Linked DNA regions of Homo sapiens: region 1 is linked to region 2. The links are contacts of gene promoters, found by promoter capture Hi-C in human tissues and cell types (Jung and others, 2019). All regions are on one chromosome and are shown on one strand. Each heading gives the region's core, a stretch centred on a gene start or on the middle of the fragment in contact. The rest is flanking DNA. Distances are from core to core; before and after follow the strand shown.

Region 1 (5,735 bases), core at 2,505-5,004, 81 kb after region 2:
ATTCCTGTGGATCTTAATGAAAAGGTAGTAGAAAGTAGTGGCATAGCTTGAAATTTAACTATTGTCAGATATTGGGCAAAAACCATCTGTATACCTCATGGACCTCCAGTAAACACTTGTACATTATGAGTTTAGATTGTTTAAAGTAGATTTCAGTATTTCCAGAGTGAATTTAGTGTTACTGTGAGGAGGAGGGTGAGAATATGTTTCTGTTGAGTGGAAGTACTTGTGTGTCTGCGGTTGTCTGGAGCCTGTTGAGTGGCCTGGAATGGATGCCTCTTACTATTTCACCCAGCCAGGCCTGAGAGGAGCTTGGGATTTTCCATGCAGCAGAGTGCCTGTGGGGTTTAAATAGTAGCCAGGTTTGGTCGCAGTGGTCTAGAAAATCGTTTTAGCCTCCTAATAGTAAACTGAAGATAATCATTTGAAAGTTTGATTAGAGGAAACTAAATGAAATTTATGGAAAACTAATACAAAACTAACATAATTAGGAACTTTGAGAAAAGAGTTATATGGGGATGTTTCTAAAGAGTTTCTGGTGACCCCAAAAATGCTCTGGATCTGTATTGTTAAGAGAAAAAAAAACCCAAGATCCAGCTCATGGCTGTATTCTCTAATCCCAGCACTTTGGGAGACCAAGGCGGGTGGATCACTGAGGCAGGAGGATCGCTTGAGCCTGGGAGGTGGAAGTTGCAGTCAGCTGAGATCGTGCCACTGCACTGCAGCCTGGGTGACAGAATGAGATCCTGCCTTAAAAAAAAAAAAAAAAGATGCCAAATTGCTTATCATCCCAGTTTATTTTTGTACAGCTATACAGTTTCGTAGTAGAAGGCAATACGCAAAAATTCTGATTGTGGTCATACTGTCCTGGGTGTGCAGATGACTACCTATTTTCTGTAATTGTCAAGAATTACCATTAGAATCAGGAAATATTTTGCAATAACTAAAACATTTAAAAAGTAAACAAAACTGTACAACCACATTATAACTAAACGAGATGAGTGATTCTCAAAGCAGGATAAACCCCTCTGCCCAGCCAATGTGGATTCCCACAGGGCTTTTCCCCAACTCCAGGAGAGGCCCTCGACCCTGGTGAGGATCACTGCCATAGCCAGACACTGAACTAACTGATGAGAGTGGGTGTGTCATAGCTGTCCGGTGTCTTGGGGTGCAGGAAAATTAGGTCAAGAATCATTGCGTTAGAGGTAGATGCTAGAGTAAGAAAGAGGATCTCTGCAGCTTCAGGCAAAGCACCTGTCCTGCAGAGCACGTTTCCCATCTGTTTTTTATTTGAGGTGGGATCTCTGCAGCTTCAGGCAAAGCACCTGTCCTGCAGAGCACGTTTCCCATCTGTTTTTTATTTGAGGTGGGTTCCCACTCTGTCACCTAGGTTGGAATGCAGTGGTGTGATCTCGGCTCGCTGCAACCTCTGCCTCCCAGGCTCAAGCGATCCTCCCACCTCAGCCTCCTGAGTAGCTGGGACCACAGGTGTGCACCAGCAAGCCCAGGTAGTTTTTTGTATTTTTGGTAGAGACAGGGTTTTGCCAGGTTGCCCAGAGACTGGTCTTGAACTGCTGAGCTTAGGAAACCCACGTACCTTGGCCTCCCAAAGTGTTGGGATTACAGGCATGAGCCACCATGCCCGGCCTCCGCCTCCATAGTTCCCAATCTTAACGTTGAAGAGGAGAAAAGTGTGCCTCGCCTGGCAGAGGGGATTAAGGGAAATAATTTCTGTGAAGTGCCTGCAATTGTTGCCTAGGAGATCCACATTAAATGCTAGCAGCCTTTCCCTTTCCCCTCCAGCAGAAAGCCTGGAAATGAAGGGAAAACAGTCACCCAAAGGCCACCTGACTATCAAATAGTGTAACTTTAGGATATTTCTTTCTCTTCTATTTATTTATTTATTGAGACAGAGTCTCCTTCTGTTATCCAGGCTGGAGTGCAGTGGCGCGATCTCGGCTCACCGCAACCTCTGCTTCCTGGGTTCAAGCAGTTCTCCTGCCTCAGCCTCCCGAGTAGCTGGGATTACAGGCACCTGCCACCACGCCCGGCTAATTTTTTTTTGTATTTTTAGTAGAGACGGGGTTTCACCATATTGGCCTGGCTGGTCTCGAACTCCTGACCTTGTGATCCGCCCACCTCGGCCTCAAAGTGCTGGGATTACAGGCATGAGCCACCGCGCCCAGCCTATTTTTATTTTATTTTTATTTATTTTTTCTTTTTGAGATTGTCACCCATCACCCAGGCTACAGTTCAGTGGCTCCATCACAGCTCACTGTGCCCTGGAATTTACAGACTCAATCAGTCTTCTTTCCTCAGCCTAATAAGCAGATTGTACTACAGGCGTGTGCTACCATACCCGGCTAATTTTTCTATTTTTTTGTAGAGACGGAGTTTCACCACGTTGTCCAGGTTGGTCTCTAACTCTTGGGCTCTAGCAGTCCACCCACCTCAGCCTCCCAAAGGACAGACATAAGCCTCCACACCCGGCCTCTGTTCTTTTTAAAAGCTACATTCATTATATTATAAAAATGATATTATAGGGCCGGGTGCACTGCCTCATGCCTGTAATCCCAGTGCTTTGGGAGGCCAAGGCGGGAGCATTGCTTGAAGCCAGGAATTCAAGATCAGCTTGGACAGCATAGCAAGACCCTGTGTTTATAACAAAATAATAAAATTAGCCAGGCTCAGTGCATGTACCTTTTTGTTCCTAGCCACTCAGGAGGCTGGGGTGGGAGGATTGCTTGAGCCCAGGAGTTTGAGGTTACAGTGAGCTATGATTGCACCACTGCACTCCAGCCTTGGTGACAGAGTGAGCCGCCATCTTAAAGGTAGGCTATTTGATATTATAAAAATACTTGCTATCATAAAATGATATTAGAAATGTTTTCCTCTTGGCCAGGCGCGGTGGCTCATACCTGTAATCCTAGCACTTTGGGAGGCCAAGGCGGGCAGATCACGAGGTCAAGAGATCGAGACCATCCTGGCCAACGTGGTGAAACCCCGTCTCTACTAAAAATACAAAAATTAGCTGGGCGTGGTGGCATGTGCCTGTAATCCCAGCTACTCGGGAGGCTGAGGCAGGAGAATCGCTTGAACCAGGGAGTCGGAGGTTGCAGTGAGCCGAGATCGCGCCATTGCACTCCAGCCTGGTGACAGAGCTAGTCTCCATCACACACAAAAATATATGTATATATATAATTATATATAAATTAAAGTAATTTTTCTGAGATTCGTTTTTCTTTTTTTTTGAGACAGGGCTGTTTAGCCCAGGCTGGAGTGCAGTGGTGCAAACATGACTTACTGCAGCCTCGACCTTCTGGGCTCAGGTGATCCTCCCACCTCAGCCTCCTGAGTACCTGGGACTGCAAGCACATGCCACCATGCCTGGCTAACTTTTTTTTATTTTTTGGAGAGATGGGATCTCACTGTATTGTCTGGGCTGGTCTTGAATTCCTGGATTTAAGTGATCCTCCCACCTTAGCCTCCCAAAGTGCTGGGATTACAGGCATGAGCCATCACGTCCAGCCTGAGATTCATTTTTACCTCAAGCTGTTCTTGGATTTCTGAAAATTCTGAGTAACTGTTGGCTTGGTCAGAACAGTAGGATGAGCTGTGACAACCCAGTCTGACATCTCAAACACTCATGGCCTGTTTCTCTTACCAGACCTGCTCCTGGAAGGCACCTGGCCTCCTCCTCCCATCAGAGGTAGCCAGAAGCAATTTATAAGCATATTTCCTACAATATCCCTAATTCCTTCTGAGATAAAATATTTGTTAAGGGAGAGAGGAAGAGGATTTATTAAATTGTATTTTGAAAACTTGAATTAAAATAGTACTATAAAATTGTACCTCCTCTTGTCCATTAGGGGGCACCATTTCCTCACATTTTCTCATCTCTAAGGTCAGAAGTGATCCCTTTGTTTTAATTGTTGTTATAATAAGCTTATTATAATCACAGTAGTAGTGCATAGTCAATAATTATAAAATACAGACAAAAAGAAGAAAATATTTTTTTTTGAGACAGAGTTTTGCTCTTGTTGCCCAGGCTGGAGTGCAATGGCACATTCTCAGCTCACTGCAACCTCTGCCTCCCGGGTTCAAGCGATTCTCCTGCCGCAGCCTCTTGAGTAGTTGGGACAACAGGTGCCCACCACCAAGCCTGCCTAATTTTTTTTTTTTTGTATTTTTAGTAGAGATGGGGTTTCGCCATGACGGTCTGGCTGGTCTCAAACTCCTGACCTCAGGTGATCCGCCTGCCTTGGCCTCCCAAAGTGCTGGGATTACAGGCGTGAGCCACTGCACCCGGCCCAAGAAGAAAAATTTGAAATCACTTCTTTTCATATTGCAATACGTAGTTGATAGATTATAGCTACTAATGCTGCAACTACTAATACATTACAATTACTCCTATCTATCCTTCCAGACTTTTTTCTAGTGGATCTATATAATAAAAAATAAATTTGTGTATTTATTGAAGTATAACATAATACAGAGGAGTACACAAATCTTAAGGGTACAACTTGATGAAGTTTCACAAAATGAACATAGCCATGTAACTGCCACCCAGATCAAGAAATAAAACATTTAAAAAAATCTTCAGAAGGCCTTTCCTTGCCTGTTCACTGTCACTACCTTCCCCCAGAGATAACCACTGTCCTAGCTTCTAACAGGAGAATTATGTTAGTGAAATCATATCCTCTGTCCCCTTGTGTCTGGCTTTTTCTGTGCCCCATTCCGTTAGTAAAATGTTTATCCATGGTGTTGTGCATTCATTCATTTTTGTTGCTGTATTTCGTTACGTGAATTTGTCACAATCACGTACACCATGGGTCAGCAGACTCTCCTGTAAAGGTCCAGATAGTAAATACTTCAGGCTTTGTGGCTGTACAGCGTCTTTCACGACTGCCTACCTGCCATGTTAGCTTAAGAGCAGCCGCAGGCAATATGTAAGTGAACGGGCATGGCTGTGTTCCAGTGAAACTTTATTTACAAAAAACAGGGGCTGGGCTAGATGTGGCTGTAGCTTCCAACTACTGCTTTACTTTTTTTTTTTTTAAAGCAAAACTCATATCATGTGATTAAATTTTTTGAGATTTCATAAGTAGCTATTATAGCACATCATTTTCCTGTGAAAGAGGAATTCCAGGAAGTGGACTAACAGCTGGGCACTCTTCCTTCTTTATTGTAGTCTCTGGCGAACATAGACGAAGTCGTGAACAAAATTAGGCTGAAAATAAGGTGAGTAAAGCTGTGTGATTGTTCATAATTAATGAAAAGTATATTGTTAATTTAGTTAATCACATTCTGGATCACATTTTTCTGTGAGAGCACTGAAATCTCAAGTTTGCCATAGATGGTAATATAATTCCTTTTAAAATTTTTATTATTTATTTATTTATTTTTGAGACGGATTTTTGCTCATTGCCTAGGCTGGAGTGCAATGGTGTGATCTTGGCTCACTGCAACCTCCACCTCCCAGGTTCAAGTGATTCTCCTGCCTTAGCCTCCCTAGTAGCTGGGATTACAGGTGTGAGCCACCACGCCTGGCAAATTTTGTACTTTTAGTAGAGACGGGGTTTCACCATGTTGGTCAGGCTGGTCTCGAACTCCTGACCTCAAGTGATCCACCTGCCTTCGCCTCCCAACGTGCTGGGATGACAGGGGTGAGCCACCGCACCCGGCCATATAATTATTTTATCCATATGAACTTTGTGGCAAGGAACTCAATGCTT
Region 2 (5,318 bases), core at 1,232-3,731:
AGGCCCTACTTATGTCGCTGGATTCTGGGGAGTGTCTGTCTAAAGCCTGACAGGTGCTGCCAGTTCCTATCCATTTCTCCCTTATTCCCTGCCCTCAAATCTAAAATATAGTAACATAAGGATAAGCCAGGAAATGATGAAAGCAGGTATGATGATGAAGTTCAAGATGGGTTGGCCACTGTAAGCACACCTGCCCCAAGTGACAAGCACAAGTTCAAGATGGGCTGGCCACTGTGAGCACACCTGCCCCAAGTGACAAGCACAAGTTCAAGATGGGCTGGCCACTGTGAGCACACCTGCCCCAAGTGACAAGCACGGTAAAAATGAATAACACTTTCACTGAAGCATGGCGTGTGGATTAGAGGGCTGTAGCTAGTGAGAATATGGTTACTTAGCATGAGTAATTCTAGGTACTTTAGTAATCCAAGTCCCCATCCTAGGATCTAAGAGCTCTGAGTGCAGAGGCACAGATCCCTGTGACTCACTGGGTTACAGAGACAAGAGATGGTTCCCCAGAATCTCCTCTCTCAGCAGTTCAAGGATTCAGTTTTCATATCTTAAAACTCCCATGTCAAAAACGTATGAAAAACTTATCTTCTCATATTTAGACCAAAGACTTTGTAACTGCTAATCAACATCGGAGTTACATAAGGTTAAGTCAGATTCAGCCAAATGAAGGAACAGACTAGAAGACAAGGTTCTCTGTTTATTGGGCTAAACGGGGCAGTAAATTGTGGCTTGTACCTCGCTTCTTAGATCTGCTTCTGGAATAAGCAGTTTATTGACAGTTATCACCACATTGGCAGAGGTTTTGCAAAAATGAAGGGCTCAATCTTTCAGTAAACGCTTTCTTAATTTTTAATCTGACATAGAAAGTTGAAGAAGTAATCTAAAAAATAGAAGGTTTGAGGAATAGTGGTTCTTCCTAGAGACCATAAAGAGCCACAACACAAATGATAGTGAAAAACGGGTTTCAATTTCCATTGAAAATACTCTAAGATACACAGGTTTGAGAATTATATTTTTCTAATTGTAACATTTTGAATTTCATTTCAATGCTGCTGTCCTAAGACAAGTATGAGAAATTAATCCTAGGTCTCCACACCTTAAGATACACTGTGTAAGGCCAGGCATGGTGGCTCACGCCTGTAATCCCAGCACTTTGGGAGGCCGAGGCAGGAGGATCACCTGAGGTCACAAGTTCGACGTCAGCCTGGCCAACATGGTGAAACCCCACCTCTACTAAAAATACAAAAATCACCCGGGCATGGTGGCAGACGCCTGTAATCCCAGCTACTGCGGAGGCTGAGGCAAGAGAATCCCTTGAACCCGAGAGGCGGAGGTTGCAGTGGGCCGAGATCGCGCCATTGCACTCCAGCCTGGGTGACAGAACAAGACAAAAAAAAAAAAAGATACACTGGGTAATCACTAACCCATTATTCCTTGTGGCGTTACGAGGTCGGACCAATCCTTGATATCCTCAAATTTCACCTTAATGAGGCTGACACCTTTCAGCTTATCGACTGGCAACTCCTTTAGGTATTCTAGACGGCTAAAGAAGAACATTTTTGGCACAGCTCCAGCCTTGAGAGCGTCTGAAATGAGCCTGCGACCTTCCAGCAGGATCTTCCCTTGTTTTTCCCGAAATGGCCTGGACTTTACTATTGTCATTACACTGCTGTAGATGGAAATAAAAAAAAAAAACAGGTAACTATCAACATCCTTGTTACTGAGACACGCTTAGTTGTAACAGAAATAAAGAGCTACGGAGAGGGCCGGGCGCGGTGGCTCACGCCTGTAATCCCAGCACATTGGGAGGCCGAGGCGGGCGGATCACCTGAGGTCAGGAGTTCCAGATCAGCCTGGCTAACATGGTGAAACAAAAACAACAACAAAGAGCTAAGGAGAAACAGAAGCTAATTCCAAAGACGCTTATTCGGCCCTCTGTGCATAATACAAAAACCAGCGGGCTGTACTGGAAGAAGTCCTCCATCGGAAGGAGGTTAAGGTTCCGCTGTGCGACGGGAAGGGAAACGAGAACATTCGACAGGCTCAAGAACCACATCACCTCAGCCTCCTGTCCCCGGGATAAGCTTTATCGTAGCGAAGCCCAGACTCTTCCCAGGTGCTGGGAGCGCGGGATGCGGACTCCTCGAGCGGTTGTTTCTCTCGTTGCTCCTGGGCACTGGCCTCAGATGGTGCCTTGCGGGGCTGCTTCCCAGGAGCGCGCTTCTGTTCCACCACCTCTCCGGAAGGAAACACCACTTTCACTGGGCTCCGCCGCAGCGCCCGGACCCAGCGCCTCGCGTCAAGGTCCCAAGCCTGGACCACCTGCAGCAACGGTCGCACGACAAACCTCGCGGGTCTCACCAGCGCCGCCATGTTCCCTGAGACCCGGGCTGCGTCACGAAAGCGCGCCGTCGGCGGCTAGTGACGTCACGGCCCGTGGCGCCCTTCGTGGACTGGGCTGTACGGTGCGCGTGACGGCTGCGTGCGGCGGGAATCATGGCTGCTCGCAGAGCTCTGCACTTCGTATTCAAAGTGGGAAACCGCTTCCAGACGGCGCGTTTCTATCGGGACGTCCTGGGGATGAAGGTGCAGGCCGGGGCCGACAGGGGCTGGCGCGCGAGGCTGGAACCGGCGCCCGAGCCGGCCCTGGCGGAGGGAGGGGAAAATGGGTGTGTCGTGAACCTAAGCCGGAGGGTGTCCGACCTTAGGCCCTGCGCGGTGTTCAGCTTCAGGAGCGTGGCGAGTTGCCGTTGGGGATCATAGGCCTTGGAGAAGGGCCTAACACGATTAGTCCCCGCGGTGTGCCCACGCACGTCCTTTCATTTAAGCCACTCGTAAACGTTTATTGAGCCCCGCCCTTGTGGAGCTTACCGTCTACCGGAAAAGACGGTAAATAAAATGTTATATAATGCTTTCTAGTTAATATTTGTGTTTTCCGGTTTGGAGCCTTTGATGTAGATAAAATCAGCGTATTCAGAGTTCTGCTTCTAGCAAGGCTGGTCTGAATAGTCCGTTTCGGATACTCAGTCTCTGAATATATGCTCCAACTCTCAACCCATCTGCTTTTCAACAGCACCCAGAAGCGGTCTGTCTCGGGTCCTGAGGAGCTGTTATTTGCAGGATTCAGTTGGTTGGGGAACTGGGTTTTGGGGACCTCCTTTGATAAGCCAGGGAGGTAGGGAACACACCACTAAGGAAGACTTGAAAGGTGCAAGAGCGCGGTTTAGTGTATAGACGGTGCAATAGACGGGGATCTGAATTCGTCAGGTCATTTTTAAAATATCTGCTATTTTCAGGGTACTACGTTGAGTTTTGGCAACAAAGGTGCAAATGACCCTGATATATATCCTCCATTAGAGCTCATGGCCTGGGTTGGGGTGGGAGTTGGAACTGGATTTGTACGTAGATGATGGTAATGGAAGTCAGAATTTGATAGTGAAAAACCACCAAACTTTCGATAGCAGAAACCACAGAGCTGTCCCTTGTTAGTATTTCCTCGTCGATCAAAAGGTTGTTGCAAAGATTAAACACGTGCCGGCGCGGTGGCCCACGCCTGTAATCTCAGCACTTTGGGAGGCCAAGGCGGGTGGATCACTGGAGGTCAGGAGTTGGACACCAGCCTGGCCAACATGGTGAAACCCTGTCTCTACTAAAAATACAAAAATTAGCCGGGCATGGTGGCACACGCCTGTAATCCCAGCTACTCGGGAGGCTGAGGCAAGAGAATCGCCTGTATCTGGGAGGCGGAGGTTGCAGTGAGCCGAGATCGCACCATTGTGTTCCAGCCTGGATGACGAAAGCAAAACTCCGTCTCAAAAAAAAAAAAAAAAAAAAGATTCAACACCTTATTATATGTATAGTATTTAACATATCGGTAATAGTAGATTATATAAGTGTTAGCCACTATTATAAAAATACAAAAGAAGGAGCGGTTTTCCAACCTGGGTGATGAGGAAATAATTCATGTAGACCTTGTATTCGAGTTGACTTTTTTTTTTTTTTTTTTTTTTGAGGTGGAGTCTTGCTCTGTCGCCAGGCTGGAGTGCAGTGGCGCGATCTCGGCTCACTGTAAGCTCAGCCTCCCGGGTTCACACCATTCTCCTGCCTCAGCCTCCCGAGTAGCTGGGACCACAGGCGCGTACCACAACACCCGGCTAATTTTTAAAAATATTTTTAGTAGAGACGGGGTTTCACCGTGTTAGCCAGGATTCGAGTTGACGTCTAAAGATAGGATATCCACAGGTAGATGAGAGGAGGAGCTACATAGTAAAACTGAAGAGCCAGTGCGGAGATGGCACATGTTTGCGAAGCCGCTGGTTTTATGTGCCTTTAGTTGAGGTTGCTTAGTTGAAGTTAAGGAGATGGGATATCAGGATGGACAGGTCGGCATTGCTTCTAATAGTATCTTGAATGCTATGCTAAAGAATTTGGATTTTATGCTGCAGTAAGATGGGAGCTCACTTATGTTCTTAAACAGGGTGGTGATGGGATCAGTGCTTTGTGCTTTAGGCATGTGCTTTTTTGGTGTTATTAAGGAAGGATATCAATAAGGATTTTTTTATTTTTTATTTTTTATTTTTTTTATGTTGAGACGGAGTCTCGCTCTTTCGCCCAGGCTGGAGTGCAGTGGCGCAATCTCGGCTCACTGCAAGCTCCGCCTCCTGGGTTCACACCATTCTCCTGCCTCAGCCTCCCGAGTAGCTGGTACTACAGGCGCCCGCCACCACGCCCTGCTTATTTTTTGTATTTTTAGTAGAGATGGGGTTTTACTGTGTTAGCCAGGATGGTCTCGATCTCCTGACCTCATGATCCACCCACCTCGGCCTCCCAAAGTGCTGGGATTACAGGCGTGAGCCACCGCGCCCGGCCAATAAGGATGATTTTTAATAGTCTGAGCGAAGCGTTGGGAACTTCAACTGGCAGGAGCCGTGGGAATCAAAAAGGAGGGCTAAAGCTAACACGTTGAGAGCCCGCTGTGTGCAGGGTTCTGTGAGATGCTTTCATAACATCCATTCCCATCACATGTTAGGAGACTGAGACTCAGATTCTAATTTGCTCAGAGTTACACAACTACTAAATGACAGAATTCCAAATCAGACTTTTTTTTTTTTTTGAGTTTGAGTTTTGCTCTTGTCACCCAGGCTGGAGTGTAATGGTGCAATCTCAGCTCATTGCAACCTCTGCCTCCCGTGTTCAAGCAATTCTCCTACCTCAGCCTCCTGAGTAGCTGGGATTACAAGCGCCCACCACCATGCCTGGCTAATTTTGTATTTTTTATATTTTTAGTAGAGATGGGGTTTCACTGTGTT

What was found. Contacts are between HindIII fragments. The study calls those that stand out against the background at their distance.
Region 1: a fragment that was not itself captured here is called in contact with the fragment with the promoter of GLOD4 in region 2 in 3 of the 25 tissues and cell types used here (hippocampus, liver and thymus).

What each region holds. Positions count from the first base shown.
Region 1 is chr17:698,837-704,571 of GRCh38, reverse strand. It overlaps VPS53 (VPS53 subunit of GARP complex), which reads left to right. Exons shown (of 22, transcript NM_001128159.3): 3 at 5,192-5,241. Among named protein-coding and RNA genes, the nearest start is that of VPS53, 13 kb to the left of the region's middle. The HindIII fragment of the contact is 8,041 bases long and covers 1-5,735 here.
Region 2 is chr17:779,443-784,760 of GRCh38, reverse strand. It overlaps GLOD4 (glyoxalase domain containing 4), which reads left to right and starts at 2,481. Exons shown (of 9, transcript NM_016080.4): 1 at 2,481-2,595. The coding sequence starts at 2,506. MRM3 (mitochondrial rRNA methyltransferase 3) reads right to left here and starts at 2,408. Exons shown (of 4, transcript NM_018146.4): 1 at 2,069-2,408; 2 at 1,434-1,678. The coding sequence starts at 2,382. RefSeq lists enhancers at 1,881-2,429, 2,101-2,450, 3,451-3,550. The HindIII fragment of the contact is 5,823 bases long and covers 841-5,318 here.